Regions from separate parts of the Homo sapiens genome. Here region 1 is linked to region 2. Evidence: promoter capture Hi-C in human tissues and cell types (Jung and others, 2019). All regions are on one chromosome and are shown on one strand. Each heading gives the region's core, a stretch centred on a gene start or on the middle of the fragment in contact. The rest is flanking DNA. Distances are from core to core; before and after follow the strand shown.

Region 1 (3,266 bases), core at 391-2,890, 260 kb after region 2:
CTTTTCTCTCTCAGCTCTTTATTTTGTAGATTGTCTTAATCAGTCTCTTTAAAGCCTTTCTCTGTCCTTCCATCAAATCCAGGCTTTCTTGACCTTCTGGCATCCCAGAAAGGAGGTCCAAGAACCCAAAGGGTTTGATAGAGAGTGAGTCTCCCCAGAGGGCAGGAGACAAAGTGATGGTTGAACTGGACTAACGCCCCTTTGGCCAGCAAAGGAGGGGTTGTTGGTAAATGCCTCATCTTTACTCTGTCACATGAGAAAGGCTGCCACAGGTGAAGAACTTGTGTGCCACTCCCACACTCATCTCCCCTCATCCTGCCAATGAGGGAGACTTCCTTCCACCACAGTAATTTTACGTGTCAACTTGATTGGGCCACAATTAATGCCCAGATTAAACATGATTCTTGGTGTGTTGGTAAGAGGGTTTCCAAATGGGATTAACATTTGAATTGGTTCACTTAGCAAAGCAGATGGCCCTCCCCAATGTGGGTGGGCCTTGTCCAAATTGTTTAAGGGCCTGTATAGAACAAAAGGCAGAGAGAAGAGGGCTTCACCCTTTTGCTTCCTGTCTACCAAATGGAGCTGGGACATCTCAGCTCATCCTCTCTCGCCCTTGGACTAGGATTTGCAACATCAGCTCCCCAGGTTCTCAGGCCTTCAGACTTGGGCTGAATTATCCCAGATCCTCCTGGGTCTCCAGCTTGCAGATGGCAGATAGCAGGGCTTCTCAGCCCCCGTATCTATGTAAGCCAATTCCTCTTCATACATATATATATATACATATATATATATATCTTCTATTGCTCTGTTTCTCTGGAGAACTCTGACTAATACACTTACCATCCCCGTCTTCCAGGGGTGGAAACTGAGTCTCAGAGGTGAAGACACTTGTCCTAGGTCCCCCAGCCAGGAGGACTTTTTTCCTGGGGTGGAATTCACATCTGCCTGTCTTTGGAGCCCTTACTGAAGCCCAAGGCTGTTATGAGGGCTTTCTTGTGTTGCTATAAAGGAATCCCTGAGGCTGGGTAATTTACAAAGAAAAGAGGTTTAACTGGCTCACAGTTCTGTAGGCTGTACAGGAAGTGTGATGCCAGCATCTCCTTGGCCTCTGGGGAGGCCTTGAGCTGCTTACAGTCCTGGCAGAAGGTGAAGGGACAGCCTGTGTATCACAGGTCAGAGCAGGAGCAAGAGAGAAGTGGGGGGAGGTGTCACACACTTTTAAACAACCAGATCTTGTGAGAACTCACTCACTACCATGAGGGCAGCATCTGCTAGGAAGGATCGCCCCCAGGACCAAAAAACCTCCCACTGGACCCTACCTCCAACACTAGGGATCACAATTCAACATGAGATTTAGAGGGGACAACATCCAAGCCACATCAGCTTGTGTCTTCCCTGTTAACTCTTCCTTCCTGCTAATGATACTGTAATCAACAGAGCCCTGAGCCACTGGCTAGAGGAGGTCTGGTTGTGATTTATTCCAGTTTGGCCTCATCTGTAATCAGAACCACCCTAAACAGGAAACAAAGGGATGTCTCCATCCCTGGGACCCCAGGAACCCCGGCAGGGCCTCCAGGAGGTTCTGCCAAGGGTACGACCCGTGTGGGCTGCAGCCCTGATGTTATTCCTTCCCTGAAAGTGCAGCCCTAAGGAGATTGTCACGGAAGGTGCACTTGTGATCAGCAGCCTGAAATTGAGGTTTCCTCACCCAGGGACAGAGCCATGTTCCCAAACACCTGGAAAAGATGAGTCCAGATCGCTTCTCCCAGCCAGCAAAGTCAGAAAACTGACTGCAGCTTTTCATTTCTCCACTGGTCTTTGTTGTGCAGACAGAACTTAACAAGGAGAAAGGGTTTGGGAGGATCTGCGTGTCTGCTCAGTTTTCTGTCTTTTATTTATTCCTTTGGTGGGTTCATGACATGGGAACTGCTAGAATATGCCCATTGTAGGAAAATTAGCAGATGCAGGCAGACCAACAGAAAATTGTTTTAAAACCTCTACTGTGACTCATCCGCAGAGCATCACAGTTGATAGACTGGTATAGAATGGGTGTTTCTTTTTTGAAAAATGAAATACATGCTTACATTCTGCTTGGTGACCTGCTTTTTGAACGTGATGATCTTCATCGGCGCTCTCAACATTGGAAAGCATGGTGTAGTAGCTATCTGTTTTGTGGGACTGTTTCGCTCTGTTTGTTCATTAGCCAGGCCAGCTCCATCCTCCCTTCCGACAGGACTGCTCTGATTTTCCTTTGAGAATCTTTGCTCACAGCGTGCAGCCTTGGTCCCCCTGTCTCTCTCTCTGTCTCTTTCTCTCTCTTCTCTCTGTCTGTCTCTCTCTCCCTTTCTTTCCCTCTCCTCTCTTCCTTTTGTTGAGACAGATAACTTTCTGACGCCTTCCCTTCACCCCCCACCCGACGTTTTTCTGTAATTACCAGGATTCCAGACTCTGGGACATAACAAAGCCCGAGGTAAACCACAAGCATTTGACACGGCCTCAGTCTCAGTTTGCAGAGGGCCTGTTTGACAGCTTCGAGAGCCACATGAAGAAGCTTCTCAGTTCTGAGCAGGGCTACCCTTCTGGGCTGCTCAGTGACAGATAATATTTTCTAAGACTTTAATTAAATCCAAACCCCTGATACAAAGGGGTGGCCCTCCATGGTCACTCAACAGCCCAGGGGCCATCTGGGGCATGGTGGGAGCCAGGGTCCCTGGGGAGTCTGAGAGCCGCTGAGGCTGAGGGCTGTCCTCAGCTGGATGTGGCGATTCCACAGCTGAGGAATCTTGAGCTTAGAAAATCCAAATCATTGATGATGGGCAAGCAAACATGATCAGCCTTTGCCCTGGAGGGAGACATCAACTTTGTAAACAACGGCAAACAAATCTGGCTGCTGCCCCAGAGGGAGACACTTTTCTGTCTACTAAGTTGTTTTCTTGTAAAGACAGTATAGAAGAAAAGCTGTCAGTGCCTCTGCTCACAAGATGTGCAGAAATGGGAGACACCATAGAGAATTTTCTCTCAATGTGAATGAAACAGGAAGAGGAGAAGTGTCAAGAAAGATGTTTCTTTGATGTTGTCAGAGTGTGAGGCTGAGATGCTAGGAAGCTCTAATCCAGCTATTCACTCATCATCCTGTAGCCTCTTCCCTTGTGTTCGGTATCTCCCGTGGCAAAACCTAGCCTCATGGCTCCTGTGGCACAGTGGCTGGCTGACGTAGCAGTCAGGATGTGCTTGGCAGCAAGACACAGAAGAACCATCTCCAATGG
Region 2 (3,240 bases), core at 707-3,206:
TCAATACTAAAGTAACTTTTTATTTTATTCTTTTTTAAGACTAGGTAATTGGGGTGGGGTTTTAAAAAAAGACAAAAAAAAAGACTAGGTAATCCATGTCAATAATTATCTCTCCCATTAAACCTTTACTACTGCATTAAAACAACTGTATTTACAAATAAATTTCATTTGCTTGTAATTTTACTTCTCAAGCAATTACCAATGGAAGGTCTCCCTTTTACATTAATGACTAAATTTACAACTGTAATTTTATCATATTAACCTACTGTAATCTAGCTGAACTTGAATACAAACTAGACTTGACATACTACTGATATATGTTTTAATTAAAAAGTGATACAATATTGGCTTTGAATTTCTTTCCCAAAAATGCAATGCAAAAATTTCAAAAGAAACACCTTTTGTGGTCGCACATTACCCTAGTTGATCTCATGCCTTAAAATCGGCTCTTTTGAAATTTAGCGATACAAAAAGGAAAACGTTTAATCACTACCCTGGAAAGAATAAATTGTGAGTTCTGCAACAAACGGTTGACTTGGCAGCTATTACGCCACTCTACAGCAAAATGCGAAGACTAAGCCCAGTTTTCTGTCAGCTGACTGTTAATTTCACAAGCCATCAGCTGCAAAAAATGTTGTTCTGTTATAAACACCATGAGCTTATTGTCTAGGAAGAGAAATCAAATGCACTCTAGAAAACGGGCAAAATGTTGAGAGTTTTAATTTCCACAGGAACTTCAGAATTTTTACTGAAAACTTGTGTTTCAGAAAATGAATTTTAAAACATTTAATCTATTCTAATATTGGGAGGTAAAAACTGACCCAAATACTCATTTTTCCTAGTTTGGAGAAAAAAAGTGTTGCAGGATAATACTGTAACCAACTTTAAGATACAATCAGATTCGTCTACATCTGCGATATTAACAAGGGACTTGCCACTCTCCTTTTCCCTCACTCTCCCAAGTTCTCCCTCAAAATAAATTCTTTTGTAAAAATTGGTTTGTTTGTAGGTTTTTCAGATTTTTTGGTGGTTGGTTTGGGCTTAAAAATAAAAGGCTGAAAAACTTTGCTCAACCAAGAAAGCAAGTCGAGGAAACAAAATAAAGTATTTTTAAGTGAAAATGGTCAATAACGTAGTCATGTTTTCTGTGGTTAATTCTAACATGGATAGCTGGAGGGTTCCTGTAATTGATTTTAAATAAATCATTTAAAATATGTACATTCTCTCCACTTGCAAAACAATTAAACATGTTGTCTTATTATAAACCACTTAAAATGTGTTGATGTCCTTGTTAATTCTGAGAAAACCATTCGCTTACTGAGAGAAGACATACAACACTCATTTTCTTTCTAAAAAAAAACCAAAAAATAAAAACCAAAAAAAACCCTTAAAGTTTAACCAAAAATTTTATCCCAAAAAACGTTTAAAAAATACAAAGCTAACTGTACCCCAAACTCCCCAACCTATAAGGATCTTAGGAAACCTTCCAACCCAGCTGCAGGGAGCCTCTGGAACGTTCTAGAAGGGGAACATCCTAGAAGCCACAGAAGGGGGGCTGCCACCTGGCTTTCTTTTTTGAGTTCAAAATAAGGGTTCAAAGCAGGTCACGGGTACTCAGGAAGGATCTTTTTGGGGGTTCCTGGCTGGCCCGCCAAGGGGTGCCTCCTCAGCCTCAACACTAGGAGGCAGCCCGGGGCCAGGAAGAGCGCCCGACTTTTCTACAGAGTGGCTGCGTCGCGCCTCGGCACCAGCTCCTGTACCTGGAGGCCAGGCGGCTTCCCCCAGTTGGGGGCTCCCTGCCACCTCTCCTCAGGGCAGCCAGCAGGGACTCCCTGTGTCGGTCCAAAACGTCGAAGAACGAGGCCTCGGGCCCCATAGGTGCAAAGGCCATGAGGGCAGACGGCTGCCAGAAGCTCCAGAAGCCCCTGTCCTAGGCTGCGCCCTTGGGGCGTGGCTGCGTGCCTTTCCCGCGCTTTCTGAGCGGCCGGCGTGCCCACGCCACACACCCAGAGGCGGGGCTGGACAGGCGTATGCGTAGAGCACGGCGTGGAGTGCGCAAGCGCAGGGCTCTCAGGCGCGGTCCCACCTGTGAGGCCCTGAGGCGGGCGCCTCCCTGAGTGTGGGTCGCGCAGGCATCGGCCCTGCGTGGCTGAGCTGAGAGATGTTTGTGTGGCGTGCTGCGGATATTGGACCTAGAGTCCCTTGAGGTGATTTAATTATTTTGGGGGTTGGCTATTTAGGGACAGCAATATCAGCGATTTTTCATTAAAACACATAATGATGAAGATCCAGCTGTGTGGGATAACAGTTCTCGGCAATGGGTTCAGCTGTGATTGAGGTGAACGCAATCCCTGTCCTTACTAACGTTTCATAGCAGTTGAATGCCTCCAAAGCCCTTTGCACTCAGGTCCCTCTTCTAATTCCCTTAAGAACCCCAGGAAGTTCCTAACGTGTCATCCTAATTTTGCAGGTGCCAGGAAAGGTCAGCTCAGAGCAGGCAGGCCTGGGTTAAAATCCCAGCCCTCGCACTCCGTAGGGCAGACCAATTTGGCAAAGAAAATCCAGGACAACCAGTTAAATTAGAATTTCAGATAAACAGCAAATCCTTTTTTTTTTTTAGAGTAACTACGTCTCGTATAAAGTTTGGGATATACTTTTACTAAAAAGTTATTTTGTAGCCTTGCACAGTGGTACTCACCCGTAGTCCCAGCTACTAGGGAGGCTGAGGCAGGAGGATGGATTTAGAGGCTCCAGGAGTTGAAGGCTGCTGTGCGCTAGGATTGTGCCTGTGAATAGCCACTGTACTCCAGGCTGGGCAACACAGGGCGATCCCTTCTCAAAAAAAAAAAAATAGTTCTTTTTTTTTTTAAGTGAAAGGTCTCACATATTTATTACTGAACCCAGCCAACCAACGCATTCATCACAGATTCAGAGAGAAAAAATATATTCTCAATAAAACATGTACAACTCTCCAGAGAGCGGTGACATTTTCAGCTTGATGTGGTAACATGACTGTGACCTTCAGACAGCATAAATATGTGTGCCCTCTCATGTGCAATTCCTTATAGGCCCAGCTCGGTTCTTCTTCAATGTCTCCTTTTGGAGTTGTACCTGATTTTATTATCAGTTTTCATCCGAATCCACTGGGGACGATTTTGCTTTTGTTTCTTGGCCAGGAATTGCTTAATCCCAAAAGTCTTGTGGGAAAGACATGGCGAGAAGTGGAGTCAAGCACACACC

Evidence for each region. Contacts are between HindIII fragments. The study calls those that stand out against the background at their distance.
Region 1: a fragment that was not itself captured here is called in contact with the fragment with the promoter of SPO11 in region 2 in 3 of the 25 tissues and cell types used here (heart right ventricle, mesendoderm cells and thymus).

What each region holds. Positions count from the first base shown.
Region 1 is chr20:57,065,046-57,068,311 of GRCh38, reverse strand. No RefSeq gene overlaps it. Among named protein-coding and RNA genes, the nearest start is that of BMP7-AS1, 150 kb to the left of the region's middle. RefSeq lists an enhancer at 2,716-3,217. The HindIII fragment of the contact is 5,357 bases long and covers 1-3,266 here.
Region 2 is chr20:57,328,519-57,331,758 of GRCh38, reverse strand. It overlaps SPO11 (SPO11 initiator of meiotic double strand breaks), which reads right to left and starts at 1,956. Exons shown (of 13, transcript NM_012444.3): 1 at 1,761-1,956. The coding sequence starts at 1,891. LOC105372687 (a long non-coding RNA gene) reads left to right here and starts at 2,095. Exons shown (of 12, transcript XR_007067670.1): 1 at 2,095-2,338. It also overlaps the pseudogene RPL39P39. The HindIII fragment of the contact is 7,446 bases long and covers 1-3,240 here.